Regions from separate parts of the Homo sapiens genome. Here all the other regions are linked to region 1. The links are contacts of gene promoters, found by promoter capture Hi-C in blood cells and fetal thymus (Javierre and others, 2016). All regions are on one chromosome and are shown on one strand. Each heading gives the region's core, a stretch centred on a gene start or on the middle of the fragment in contact. The rest is flanking DNA. Distances are from core to core; before and after follow the strand shown. Region 1 holds the start of CELF6 (CUGBP Elav-like family member 6). Region 2 overlaps ARIH1 (ariadne RBR E3 ubiquitin protein ligase 1). Region 3 overlaps ARIH1 (ariadne RBR E3 ubiquitin protein ligase 1).

What was found. The method cuts DNA at HindIII sites, captures the fragments that hold promoters and counts their contacts. A CHiCAGO score of 5 or more calls a contact.
Region 2: a contact is called between a fragment that was not itself captured here and the fragment with the promoter of CELF6 in region 1, in 1 of 17 cell types (monocytes). The highest score is 6.2, in monocytes.
Region 3: a fragment that was not itself captured here is called in contact with the fragment with the promoter of CELF6 in region 1 in 2 of 17 cell types (monocytes and neutrophils); the score reaches 6.3 in monocytes.

The regions. Positions count from the first base shown.
Region 1 is chr15:72,317,262-72,322,242 of GRCh38, reverse strand. It overlaps CELF6 (CUGBP Elav-like family member 6), which reads left to right and starts at 2,086. Exons shown (of 13, transcript NM_052840.5): 1 at 2,086-2,630. The coding sequence starts at 2,369. RefSeq lists silencers at 1,950-1,999, 2,060-2,399. The HindIII fragment of the contact is 9,541 bases long and covers 1-4,981 here.
Region 2 is chr15:72,558,194-72,563,174 of GRCh38, reverse strand. It overlaps ARIH1 (ariadne RBR E3 ubiquitin protein ligase 1), which reads right to left. Exons shown (of 14, transcript NM_005744.5): 6 at 1,626-1,692. Among named protein-coding and RNA genes, the nearest start is that of MIR630, 27 kb to the left of the region's middle. The HindIII fragment of the contact is 4,694 bases long and covers 217-4,910 here.
Region 3 is chr15:72,507,332-72,512,312 of GRCh38, reverse strand. All of the region lies in intron 1 of ARIH1 (ariadne RBR E3 ubiquitin protein ligase 1), which reads right to left. Among named protein-coding and RNA genes, the nearest start is that of ARIH1, 35 kb to the right of the region's middle. The HindIII fragment of the contact is 4,991 bases long and covers 1-4,538 here.

The sequences.
Region 1 (4,981 bases), core at 837-3,336:
AAGGAGAAAAATAATTTATTTTATTTATTTATTCATTTAGTAAAAATGGGGTTTTGCCATATTGGCCAGGCTGGTCTCAAACTCCTGATCTCAAGCAATCCACCCACCTCGGCCTCCTGAAGTGCTGGGATTACTGGTGTGAGCCACCGCATCCCGCCAGAAAAATGATTTTTGAAAATCATAATTTGCTGCTGCATTTTTTTTTTTTTTTTGAGATGGAATCTCACTCTGTCACCCAGGCTGGAGTGCAGTGACACGATCTTGGCTCATTGCAACCTCCACCTCGTGGGTTCAAACGATTCTCCTGCTTCAGCCTCCAGAGTAGGAGGAGCCCGCCACCATGCCTGGCTAATTTTTGTATTTTTAGTAGAGACGGGATATTGTCATGTTGGCCAGGCTGGTCTTGAACTCCTGACCTCAAGTGATCTGCCCGCCTTGGCCTCCCAAAGTGCTGGGATTACAGGTGTGAGTCACCATGCTCAGCCAGAAAAATAAATCATTTAAAAATCATGATTTGCTTCTGAATTGAATATTGTTTTAAGAACTTTTTGATGATTCCAGTTGCTACTGCTGGTCTCCAGCAGTTTCTTAGAATAGTCAATGGACACAAGTTATGTTAAAATCTCTATTAGGCCAGGTGCAGTGGCACACTCCTGTAATCCCAGCACTCTGGGGCACCGAGGTGGGTGGATCACTTGAGCTCAGGAGTGTTCTAGACAAGCCTGGGCAGAATGGTGAAACCACCATCTCTACAAAAAAAAAAAAAGAAAAAAAATTATCCAGGCATGGTAGCGTGCACCTGTCATCCCAGCTACTTGGGAGGCTTAGGTGGGAGGATCGCTTGAACCCAGGAGGTTGAGGCTGCAGTGATCTTAGATCGCACCACTGCACTACAGCCTGGGTGACAGAATGATAACCTATCAAAAAAAAAAAAAGGAAATCTCTATTAAAATAATTAGCAATTTTACTGAAAGAGGCATGAAAAATATATTATGGAATAAATATATAATTTATGAAGTATGTGTCTTTGTCCAAACATTGTATTACTACTTTGTGCAAACATCACTGATCCATCAAGAGAATACCTAGACATGTGCAGGAGTAATAAAATTCCATCAGCTCTGATATTTTGCCAACTTTCAGTCATATAGAAAGCGTAGCTGTACATATGTCTTTCATTTTCGTAATTCTGAACCTGTATTTGTGAAAATAAGAGGGGAACATATTTAACAAATTGTAATTTGATTTGTATCTTTTAAATGTTTAGATGCACAGTATGTCGATTTCCATTTCTTATTTTGCGCTGGGCCCAACAAATGTTGGGGTGGGCCTGGCCCTAACATCCTCGACCCTCAGAACCTCAGCTTCCTTTTCCGGAAAAAGAGAACACTCCTGAGTTCACAGAACTGGGATGAACTGGGCACCTGGTGCATAATGGGTTCTGAGTAAATACGGCTAAGTTCCCTCACTCTCCTAAGGAGGAATCCGTGTTCAAGGAGTGTTTAAGGGGTTTTTATTTTATTCTTCCTTTCTTTTTAAGGCTGCAAGGGAGACGAATGTGTCTGAGGCTCAGGGGTAAGAAAGTGGTTAAAGACACCGAAGACAGAGATGTGTGATGGGGCGGGGTGGGATTGGCTCCGAGGGACTGGCTCGATAGTGGGAATAGAGAAGAGGAATCCCCATCCACCCCCGCAGGAAACGCACCAGCGTTTGGAGGTGTGTGTGCCTGCGTGTGCCTGCGTTTGCCTGTGTGTGCCTGTGTGTGCGGTGGGGATTAGCCCCGACTCCGGCAGACACCATCACGCATGACGAAGCTGCTTCCCCTCACGCGGCCCAAGGCGCACACGCGCGATCCACGGCCACGCCCGCACACACTCGACACACACAGGGCATTCGAGGGTCCGGTTGCCATGGCGAGCAGGAGCGCGTGAGCCCAGCCGCCCCCCCCGCCCCCGGCGAGCCCAGTCAACTCCCACTCTGATTGGCGGCTGCTTCCTCATTATGCAAATCATTTGCGTAGACTCGGCGGCCAGCTGCCTGACGTCACCAAGCACGGGGGCTGGGGCTCGGGGCTCGGCTCTGGGAGAGCTCGGGCGGGAGCCCAGAGAGAGCCGCACGGGGACCTCAAGCCAGACCCCAGCGTTCAGCCGCCACCTCGGCCCGGGCCCGCCCCGCCCCGGCCCCGCCCCTTTCCTGCCCGCCCCACCCCCTCTACGCCCCTCCACCCGGACCCCGCCCCCTGGGCAGCCCCCCGCCCTCTCCGCCCGGGCTCCGCCCCCTCCCCCTGGCCCTCGCCACCGGTCCAGGGAGGGGACGGCGGGACAGGCGGGACCAGTGGGACCGGCGGGAGGGCTGACAGGGCGGGGACATGGCCGCGGCGCCGGGAGGGTCAGCGCAGCCCGCTGGCCCCGGCCCGCGCCTGGGTTTCAGCACCGCGGACAGCGGCGTCGGCATGAGCGGGCTAAACCCCGGTCCCGCCGTACCCATGAAGGACCACGACGCCATCAAGCTCTTCGTGGGGCAGATCCCGCGGGGCTTGGACGAGCAGGACCTCAAGCCGCTGTTCGAGGAGTTCGGCCGCATCTACGAGCTGACGGTGCTGAAGGACCGGCTCACCGGCCTCCACAAAGGTGCGCGGGGTCAGCCCAGCCCAGCCCAGCCCCAATCCGATTAGAGTGTGGCCCGACCCCAGCCCAGCCCCAGCCCTAGCCCTGCCGAGAGCCAGTCCAACACCAGTCCAATATCAGCCCCACCTCAGCCCAGCCCCCTTCCCAGATCACAGAATTTTCTCTCTGACATCCTCCCTCTGATTATCACTGTGGTCCCCTAACATGTTCTCCACTCTAACCTCCAAATTCCTGGCCTCCACCTCTCACATCCCAGCAGTCCCTGCCTTTCAATTGGACCTTTCCACCACCTCTCCCATCAGACCTAAAATTCTGGAATTTGAAAACTTATTCCACCTTCTAGATCTCGAATACCCTCAATTTCCCAAACCCTGAGCCCAAACACTCCTGAATCCTCCATCTGGTGGCACCTCACTCAGGCCTAACCACCCACATGCATATCTTGGACTTGCACCCCTCCTCTGGCCTCCTAGTCCGGCCATCCCCCTCAAGAGCCTTCTTTTGACTCTCAGACTGCCAACCTAAAACACCGCAGACCCAAACCCTCCCCTTCTTCAGAACCCAGACCTGTCTAACACAAAATCCAATTCAATTCCCAGGAGGCTCTCAGTTCCAGACACCCCCTCATGTTCAACAACAGCCCCAATCTCTCCTGCCCTTCGCCAGAATCCCAATGCACTCTACCTCTTTTGATTTCAGTTCAGAACCCTGACCTCAGCTGGGAACTCCTGCCACCCTGTGTCCCTTTCTTCTTGGATTTCTCTCAGCTAAATCCACACTTCTTTCCTTCTCTAATCCCCTCACTCCTGTGCCTCTTCTTTGCTCCTCCCCAGTCCTCTTTATGGCCTCTTTCTTTCCCTCCCCTCACAGGCTGGTCCCAGTCCAGGCCCATTCTCAGGGTGAGTCAGGCTGAAGAGACAGAAGGAGATCTTCTCCCTGCCCTTTCTAGAGAGATACACGGTCCTGTTCGGCCACACCCCTTTCTTCCTGTAGAGAGAGGGAGGAGGCTTGTTTACATGCAGAAAAGTCTGTCCAGGCAGGGCTGGAGTAAGAGAGCCAGAGTCACATGTCATACATGGGCAGGAGAAGGGGAGATGATTTGAGAAGGAACACTCTTATCTCCTCCCCCACCACCACCACCATGCTGTGCTTTCAAGTTTTTGCTGGGAAAGAGTCACCAACTATCCTCCATGATCTTCCTAAGAGAGGAGTGGTGGGCCTTGGGTAACAGCTAAAGGTACATTCCTAAGGACTGAGAGCTGGAATCAGACTGCCACCTCTTCAACTTGGAGGCCTCGTAGGGTTCCTTGGCACACTAATGTAGGCACTTCGAGAAAATGCCAATAGAAGAGCTAGGACCATCTGGCTAGGAGTACAGCTTCCACCCTTTGGGCTGGGATTGTGTTAATGGGTGTATGAAAGGACAATACCTCACCATCTAGAGTCCTTCTAATGCACTCCCACTACCTGCCTGTCTGTCCATCCCTCTGTAGTAACTCATTTTCTTATTTTTAGACATTGATTTCAGGATGTACATACAAAGCTAATCTTTGTAGGCCATCCGTACAATAAGGGAAGTGTATAGAATACCCTTAAATCTCACTCTTCTCACTATCAGTCTCTGAACTGTTCCCTCATCCTCTCTCTTTTCATTTAGCTCTAATTCTGCCTGTTATTTTCATTCATCTGTCTCTCAAACCATGCTTCTCTGTCTTTTCTTCCCTTCATTCTTCCACCCTCTATCCCGGCTAGTCCACATGGGGCTTCTTTAGGCAGCAACTGGGCCCCTGAGCCTTTCAGACAGGCAACCTGCCCGGTTTGGACGTCAGGTGATATGGGTTGGTAGCAAAACACAGAGCAGGGATGTAAGTGGAATCAGGTGTTTGGTGATTTATTTCCAAACTAAATCACAACTCTCCAAGGCAAGTGTTGCCTTCCAAGATGATTGTAGAGGGTCTCCAAGTCAACATCTTCCTCATCCTCTCCCCAGAAACAGTGACTCATTTTCCTTTTGATGTCTGGGTACCGAGGCAGGCAGCCACAGTGCTTTGAAAACAACCCCAGCTTGGGAGTTAAGACATTCCAAATCCTGCCCTGCCACTGACCCACTCTCTGGGCTTCAGTTTCCCTGTTGATGTGATAAGAGTTTTGCTCAGTTCTCTAAGTTCCCTTTAACTCAATGAATGTCCGGCAATAAACCCATCTTAATGGGGCAGCCCTGTAGAAGAGGCCAGAAAAAAATGTTCCCATTTGCCTTTCTAATCTGCTGAGGTCTAAGTGGAAATCTGCCCCAAGTTCCTAATGGCTCACCATATCCACTTTCTCCTCCTTCAGTCCTTCTCCCTCCTACACTC
Region 2 (4,981 bases), core at 1,314-3,813, 240 kb before region 1:
GGAGGCTGAGGCAAGAGGATCACTTGAGCCCAGGAAGTAGAGGCTGCAGAGAGCTGTGATCATCTGCTGCACTCCAGCCTGGGTGTTAGAATGAGGCCCTGCCTCAAAAAAAGACAGCAAATTAAATTAGGTCATGATGCAAGATTTCCTAGTACATCAAGCTATTTATATTGCTTCTCTGGTACAAGGGGCAAATGGGGGATAATTACACAAGCTTATGAAAACTTGCTGTGGTCTTCTATAGCAACACTTCAGATGTGCCTTTTTTTTTTTTTTTTAAAGATGACTGATCCCTGAAGACCTGGTTTTATAAAATACATGAATCACCTCTTGTTCTATCTTCAAAATCCCACTGAATAACTTTAATTAAATATCATGTATGTGACCATTAAAAACCACTAATTTATTTACAGTTCTATTTCAGAACAATTTTCAAAAGACACAAGAAAATCAGATATACTCTTTATCAAGGAAGGTGTTTAGAAGCTACAGAATAGTTCAAGATAGGCTAAAGGATATACATACAACTTCTCCCATAAAAAGCTCTTGTAAGAAGGAAAAAAAAAAACAAACAAAAAACCCAGTTCCTAAACCACAGGCAAAGATTGCATTTTAGTTCCTCAAAAGGAAATATAACTTTTATAGTATTATGAAAAAAAAACACTCTGCACCAGAATTCAGAAGTCCATTGACCATTTCAAATAATACACTATTTCTAAAATAGGCTGTTTCCAGGTTTAATCTCTAACAGAAATAATTACTTTCTAGAATTAAAAGACCAAGTTACTGATGTTGTCATACAGGGGCTGAAAAACTCCTCTGTAACAAGCCAAGAGGGTAAAGAATTTTGGTTTTGCAGGCCAGAACAGTCTCTGTAGCAACTACTCAACTCTGCCACTGTAGCACAAAAGGAGTCATAGAACAAATGGGCAAAGGCATGGTCCAATAAAGGATAGCATTCTTTATTAACAAGATTTACTGGTAATGAAACCTAAAACGAGCAGAGAAATAGCAGGGTTAGAATCTCAAACATGATTAAACATGACACGATTAGTAATCTACTACAATTCTCAGCTAGGGATAAAGAAAAGTAAAGGAAGAATACAGTAAAAATAATTTTATTATCCAAGGTCAAGATCTATGGAGAGATGTACTTACTGGTTTCTCATACTCTTTTATTTTATTTTATTTTATTTTTTATTAAGAGGGAGTCTCGCTCTGTCACCCAGGCTGGAGTGCAGTGGCGCCATCTCGGCTCACTGCAACCTCTGCCTCCAGGGTTCAAGCGATTCTCCTGCCTCAGCCTCCCGAGTAGCTCGGATTACAGGCTTGTGCCACTGTGCCCAGCTAATTTTTGTATTTTTAGAAGAGACAGGGTTTCGCCATGTTGGTCTTGAACTCCTGATCTCAGGTGATCCACCCGCCTCGGCCTCCCTTAGTGCTGGGATTACAGGCATGAGCCACCACACCTGGCCTGTCATACTCTTTTGAGAATAAAGGTATTTTGGCATGCTTCATAAATATGTTAAAGATGTTTTTTACTGTCAATAAATTATAATTTTTAAAATAGTATTTCTATTAATAAACAGAATTCCTTCTTACAAGAAGGAAAACAAATCACTTACCTCTACAAAGCTATTTGTTATTAAATGCTGATACTTTAATTTAACTTTTGAATCTGTGATCAGGCGCCTGAAACCAAGAATAAAAATAGATTAGAAAGTTTCCAGTCAAGAGTATTTTCCACATTTATAAAACATAGTTTCAAAAGCTGTTTATGCTACGGCTACATGTTTATGCCCTAAGCTGTAAATACTGAAATGCACATAGGCTATCAACAAATATAACTGTACTGATCAGAACAATAATTTCAAAGTTTGTATAGTTTTATTTTCATAGACTTTTTTTCCATGGTTCTTATTTTTTAAATAGTCTACTTTTACCCAGTTTTTATTACAGCCTAATGACTTACCAACTAGTGCCAAGTATAAGCGCATTTCAGGGTCTTTTGACTCTGATATCATATCATGCCTTAAGACAGCAATTCTCAGCCACCTTCCTTCAGACACCCCACCCAAATCAGTATGCGAAATGAGACAGATATTGTTGCCAGAAATGTTAAGAAATGGATCCAGGTTTTGTGATACCTAAAGCTGATACAATTTTAAGAGCCTTCTTCTTCTGAGAGCTCTTAGAAATTAACCAGAAATGCTCACTGACTGCATCCTGGCCTCTTCTGAACACTATAACTCACAAGAATTTCCAGAATTCACAGGATCCCACGTAGTGAGGAATCCTGAAGTTTAAGTTTCATTAGTTCTATGGTAAATACTCCTCTGAGTGTATTCCCACTGAGAAAGACATGAAGAACATGCATGTAGTTCAACCCCATTAAAATCTTTTAAATGAACCAATCTGGCCTCATTTGACTCTTGAGCTTCATAGGCCTCTCTCCTTCCACAAGATCCCACCCTGTCCTGTGGCACTTTCAGTGCACTCCTATCACATTCGTATTCTTGTATTTCCTCAAAACAGTAAGTACCACCCTTCCTCAGAGGCTGTGCATAAGGCTGCCTCCCTTGGAAAGACAAGAATATTGTAATGGAGCTCTAAGGTGGGACAGCCTAGGTTTGAATGCCAGCCTCACAACTCACTAGCTATGAATTGAAGGTAAATTCTTTGAACTCTCCATTTCTCAGTTACTAATCTGTAAAATAGATATCAGAAACATGGTTGTGAGACTAGAATAGTGCCTGGCAGATAGTAAGCACTCAATAAATATTAGACGCTATTACTGTATTACTTCACTCAGTTACAATAAAGTATTACTCAAGGAAGCCTTTCCTGAGTTTCCACACTCGTTTGGATATAGATACCCTCTCAGTTCTCATGGCACCTTAAACATCTACTTTATAGAAATTATCATAATTTTAATTAGACAGTTATCTGTATAATCATTTGTTTAATATCTGTCTTTCTCCTCCCAACCCCATGAAAGGATCCCCAGGTGTCCAGTACGCCTGTAGAAAGTGTTCAATTAATATTTTTTAAATGAGTAAATCTCCATATTTCACAGAAGTGGAACCTGCGGTCTAAAAATAATTTGTGTATTTGATGGTTCCTCAAAAAGTTAAACATAGCATTACCACAAGACCCAGGAATTCTCCTTTGAAATATATATACTTAAGAGAATTAAAAACAGATGTTCAATGAAAAACTTGTACACAAATGTTCATATGTTCACATAAGACATTTCCGTAAAAAATGGAAATGTCCATATAATGGAACCATTATTCAGCAATGAAAAGGAGTAAAGTGATGATTCATGATACAACATGGATGAATCTTGAAAACATTAAAGAAGCCAATCACAAAAGGCAACATATTACATGATTCCCTTTATATGAAATGTCTAGAATAGGCTAATCCACAAAGACAGAAAGCAGATGAGTGGTTGCTAGGGTCTAGGGGGAGAAAGGAATAGCGAATGACTGCTTAACGGATATAAGGTGATTAAAATAGTCTGCAATTAGGTGATGTTTGTAGAATAATATTATGTATATACTAAAAGCCACTGGATAATATACTTAAAAATACAGTTGCTGGCCATGTGCGGTTGCTCACGCCCGTAATCTTAGCACTTTGGGAGGCAGAGGTGGGTGATCACTTGGGGTCAGGAGTTCAAAACCAGCCTGGCCAACATGGTGAAACCTCGTCTCTACTAAAAATACAAAAAAATTAGCCGAGCATGGTGGCAGGCACCTGTAATCCCAGCTACTCAGGAGGCTGAGGCAGGAGAATCACTTGAACCTAGGAGGTAGAGGTTGCAGTGAGCCGAGATCATGCCACTACTGCACTCCACTCTGGGCAACAGAGAGAGATTCCATCTTAAAAAAACAAAAAACAAAAAAAACCCCATTGCTTCTTAAACAACACAGGTTTGAACTGCATGGGTCCACTTATTTATGAATATTTTTCAACCAAACAGGGATCAAAAATAGTTATTTGTGGGATGTGAAACCTGCATATATGGACGGTCAAATTTTTGTATACATGGGTTCTGCTGGGCTGACATGAGCATGCGCAGATTTTGGTATATTCAGGGTGGAGGACGTGGGTCCTAGAACCAATCCCCAGTATACTAAGGATAACTGTAATTAAAATGAGTTTTATATTACAGATTTTATATCAATAAATAATAATAAGGAATGTATCAGGCCAAAAGTCAGATGCCTTGATTGCCAAACACACACATCTTATTTACACATGTATTACCCATAATGCTTTTCTGGTATGACAAACCCTAATGATTTCTGATAGCTGGCCTTAGCCTAAAAAGCTATCTAAACCTGGCATGGACCACCAGGACGTGAGAGCAAACATCAGCCAACAGTTATTAGGACAAGGTTCCACCCTTAGTTTATCTGATATTGATAAGGAAGTAAAAGAAAGTGAGCATCCATCTTCAAGAATAGGCATTCTCAAGAAGGTGGCAGCAAGTGTCACTCTGGTCATTAATAAGACAATTCTCTTGACAAAGATTTGTTACCATCACAAATTGAAAATAGTTATTGGCCAGGCTTGGTGGCTCACGCCTGTAATCCTAGCACTTTGGAAGGCCAAGGCGGGCAGATCGCCTGAGGTCAGGAGTTCGAGAACAGCCTGGCCAACATGACGAAACTCTGTCTCTACTAAAAATACAAAACTTATCCGGACGTGATGGTGTACACCTGTAATCTCAGCTACTCAGGAGGCTGAGGCAGGAGAATTGCTTGAACCCGGGAGGCAGAGGTTGCAGTGAGCCGATATGGTGCCACTTGTACTCCAGCCTGGGCAAACCAATAAATGTAATTCACCACATAAACAGAATTAAAAACCATACGATCATCTCAAATGACACAGAAAAAGCTTTCAATAAAGTCCAACATCTCTTCATGATAAAAACTATCAACAAACTAGGCTTTGAAGGAACATACCTCAA
Region 3 (4,981 bases), core at 794-3,293, 190 kb before region 1:
ACTGAGTATGTAATTAACTCTCTTGCACAAAGAAAACTCATGGACCAAAAATGGTGTCACTGGAAAATTCTACTAATCATTCAAGGAAGAAAAAAAAAAATTCTACACCACTCTTCCAAAAACTAGAATAGGAGGGACCACTTCCCAATTTCCATAAGATCACACTGATATCAAAATCCGACAAAGACATTTCAAGAAAATTACTACATGAACAAAGATGCAAAAATCCTCAATGAAATATTAGGAAATACAATCTAGCAATATATAAAAAGGATAATTACACCACAATCAAGTGGGGTTCGTCCTGGGATTGCACGGATAGTTTTAAATATTCAAAATTCAATTTAATTACCACACTAAAAGCCTAATGAAGAAAAGTCACAGGATAGGATATAAATAAAGCATTTGACAAAATTCAACATCCACTACTATAAAAATCTCTCAGCAAACTAGGAAACGAAAAAGAAGTGCCTAGAAGAGGCACTTCTAGGCCAGCTGCCCAGTCACTCTCAGTCAACTCTGTACTGGACGGAGTCTTACAAATACAATATGGCAAGAAAAAGAAATAAAAGAAATTGGAAAGGAAAAAAGCTGTTTCTAATCAGATGACTATGTATGTGGCTATGCAGAAAATCCCATTAATCTACAAAAAATTCCTAGAAGAAATGAGTTTAGCGAAGTCCAAGGCCAATATAAAAAGATCAGCTGGGCCAGGCACGGTGGTTCATGCCTGTAATCCTAGCACTTTGAGAGGCCAAGGTGTGTGGATCACCTGAGGTGAGGAGTTCAAGACCAGCCTGGCCAACATGATGAAACCCCATTTCTACTAAAAATACAAAAAATTAGCAGGGCATGGTGGCAGACGCCTGTAATCTCAGCTACTCAGGAGACTGAGGCAGGACAATCACTTGAACCCGGGAAGCGGAGGTTACAAGTGAGCCAAGATGGCGCCACTGCACTCCAGCCTGGACAACAAGAGCAAAACTCCATCTCAAAAAAGAAAGAAAGAAAGAAAAGATCAGCTATATTTTTACATACTAGTAATGAATAACTGAAGATCAAAAAAATTTAAAGTGCCACTTACAATAGCACCAAAACGTGAAATACATAGGTATAAATTTAATATGTGAAGAACGTGTACACGGAAAACTGCAAAATATTGATGAAAGAAATTTTAATAAGACCTAAATAATGGAGAGAGATGCCATCTTCATGGATTGGAAAACAACATAATTAAAATGTTAATTCTTCCCAAACTGACCTATAGATTCCACTCAATGCCAATCAAACTCCAAATATTTTTTGGATAAACATCAAAGTGATTCTAAATTTTATATGGAATACCAAGGAAACTAGAGTGGCCAAATTTTGAAAAATTTTAAAACAGAACACCTGATTTCAAAACATAACTATGAAGTTACAGTACTGGCAAAAAGATATACAGATCAAAAGAATGGAATGGAGACCAGAAATAGACCCACATAAATACAGCAAAAGTGATCTTTTACAAAAGTGATAAAACAATTCAACGGGGAAAAAGTCTTTTTTTTTTTTTTTTTTTTTTTTTTTTTTTTTTGAGTCAGAGTCTTGCTCTGTTGCCCAGGCTGGAGTGCAGTGGCGTGATCTCGGCTCACTGCAAGCTCCGCCTCCCGGATTCACATCATTCTGCTGCCTCAGCCTCCCCAGTAGCTGGGAATACAGGCGCCCACCACCAAGCCCGCCTAATTTTTTTAGTAGAGATGGGCTTTCACCATGTTAGCCAGGATGGTCTCGATCTCCTGACCTCGTGATCCACCCGCCTCGGCCTCCCAAAGTGCTGGGTAGTACTGGAATAATTAAGATGTACATATTTTTAAAATGTACTTTAGCTCACATTTAATACAAAATTAATAATGGATCAGACCCAAATGTAAATCAGACTGTAAAACTTAAAGAAAATGTTTGTGACCTTGAGTTACACAAATAGTTCGTACATACATCAAAAGCACAATCCATTAGAGAAAACGGATACACTGAAATCCATCGAAAGTAAAAGATACTGTTAAGAAAATACAAGATATACCACAGACTAGGAGAAGATACCTGCAAATTACATTTCTGATGAAGAATTTGTACCTAGAATAATTTTTTAAAAATCTAAAAACCTAACAAGAAAATAAAAGCCCATTTTAAAAATTGATTTACAATTCTATTTAAATGACACAGTGGAAAAGGCAAAATTACAGGGCTCAGGCCAGAAGAGGTGGGAGATCCCTGTAGTCCCAGGTACTCAGGAGGCTGAGGCAGGAGGATCACTTGAGCTAAGGAGTTCAAAGATGTAGTGTGCTAGGATCCCATCTGTGAACAGTCACTGCACTCTAGCCTGGACAACACAGTGAGGCCCCATCTCTCTTTGGGGAAAAAAAAAAAAAAAGGTGGGGCTGGAGTGGGCGATTGGTGTCACACCTGTAATCCCAACACTTTGAGGGGCCAAGGCGGGAGGACTGCTTGAGCCCAAGAGTTTCAGACTAGCCTGGGCAACAAAGCAAGACCTCTACTAAAAATTTTTAAAAAATTAGCCAGGCATGATGACACACATGCCTGTAGTCCCAGCTACTCTAGAGACTGAGGTGAGTAGGATCCCTTGAGTCCAGTAGCACAAGGCTGTAGTGACCTATGATCGCATCACTGCATTCCAGCCTGGGCGAAAGAGTAAGACCCTGTCTTAAATGAATGAGTGAAAATAAATAGAAATAAATAAGTAAGGATAGGGTACAAATCCAGAGCTGCCAAATATTAAAGGTGGGGGAGGGTTTGACTAAACAATGGGGTAGAAAGAAATTTGAGGGGTGATGGTGAGGGGAAACTGTTCTGTAAATTAACTATGGTGGTGGTTTACACAACTCTAGGCATTTATCAAAACTCAGAGAACTGTATGCTCCAGTGTAAATTTTATTGTATGAAACTTAAAGTATTCAACTATAAACGTAATCTAGCCTGCACTGGAGCACCTGTAGTGAAGTTCTTTTAAAAAGAACAATGTGGGCCAGGTGTGGTGGCTCACACCTGTAATCCCACCACTTTGGGAGACCGAGGCAGGTGATCACTTAAGGTCAGGACTTCAAGGCCAGGCTGACCAACATGATGAAACCTTGTCTCTACTAAAAATATAAACATTAGCTGGGAGTGGTGATGCACGCCTGTAGTCCCAGCTACTTGGGTGGCTGAGGCATGAGAATCACCTGAACCCAGGAAGCGGAGGTTGCAGTGAGCTGAGATCAGGCCACTGCACCCAGCCTGGGCAACAGAGCAAGACTCAGTCTCAAAAAAAAAAAAAAAGGGCCAGGCACAGTGGCTCACACCTGTAATCCCAGCACTTTGGGAAGCTAAGGCGGGTAGATCACCTAAAGTCAGGAGTTTGAGACCAGCCTGACCAATATGGTGAAACCTCATCTCTACTAAAAATACAAAAATTAGCCGGGCATGGTGGCGTATGCCTGTAGTCCCAGCTACTCGGGAGTCTGAGACAGGAGAATTGCTTGAACCCGGGACGTGGAGGTTGCAGTGAGCCGAGACTGCACCACTACACTCCAGCCTGGGTGATAGAGAGAGACTCCGTCTCAAAAAAAAAAAAAAAAGAAAGAAAGAACAATGAGAGTAAAAGGGAATGCTGAAAAGGAGAACATAGATTTGAAATTATTTAGTGCCGGGCACAATGCTAGATACTTTATATACATTATTTCATTTAATACTCACATCAATATTTTATGCAAGTTAGATATGATTTACATTTTACAGATGAGGTTACAGAGGTTAAGTGTCTTGGTCCAGGATAAAATAGGCTAGTAGGATTTGAATACATGGAGAAATTATTTTTTAATTTATGATTATAGCACCACTCCCTACAAGGACTTGTCAAAGGAGAGAAATTCACTTCGGTGTGCCACCAAAACTGATAGTTCAGTGAAAAGCCAATTCAAGCTCTTGGCTGAAATAAAGAGCTCTTCATCCTTTTTAAAGGATATAAACAAACCAAACAAAAACAGTTTGAGTAAAATCACTATAATCAGAAAACTAGTACTAATACTAGCAGCAGTACATTTAACTTTTAGGACAATAGAACAACCTAAAACCTTACATCTTGTCTAGTTATAACTCTAAATCAGTACCACCCACCCCTGTCCATTCTGGCTACATATAAGAATCTCCTGAGGAACTTAAAAAATACCATTAATTGGGCTTTGCCCCCAGCAATTCTGATTCAACTGTCAAGGGTAGAATATGAATATATATATTTTCATCCAACATTTTTATCTGAAGGTCCCCAGATGATCCTAACATGCAGACAGAACTGGGAACTACTGCTCTAAACAATTTCCCACTACACAGGCTCCGAAAAAGTACATCTGTAGAACTCCCATGAATGTGGCAGTATAGTATTTTAGTAATCTAAAGAAAATAACATTCCAGGCTCAGAGCAGCTGTATTTACTTTAAAGTTTTGCATTTTGAAAAAGTTGATTAGTAAGTCTGATTATGTCAACTGTCCTAGCTGAAGCTTTAACATCAATTGCACCATCATCCCCTATCCTTTGATCAAGTAGTTCTCAATTTTAGTAGCACATAAGCTCTTAATTGACTGTTATTTATTTATTTATTTTTATTTAAAGACAGGATCTTGCTATGTTGCCCAGGCTGGTCTCAAATTCCTGGGCTCATGCAATCCTCCAGCTTCAGCCTCCCAAAACACAGGGATTATAGGAATGAGCCACTGTGCACAGCCATCTAGGAAGCTTTTAAACAAGCCACAAACCCCAGGCCAAATATATCAGAATATGGGGGGAGTGAGGAAGAGGACTGAGGGGGACACCTGGGCATTACCATTTTCAAAAACTCCCAAGAGATTCCAATAAGCAGTCACAGTGGAGAATCATAATCTGGATGCACACATGTGTGCAGACAGGCCCATATTCAAGAGTATGACAAACTCTCCAGGTAGAATC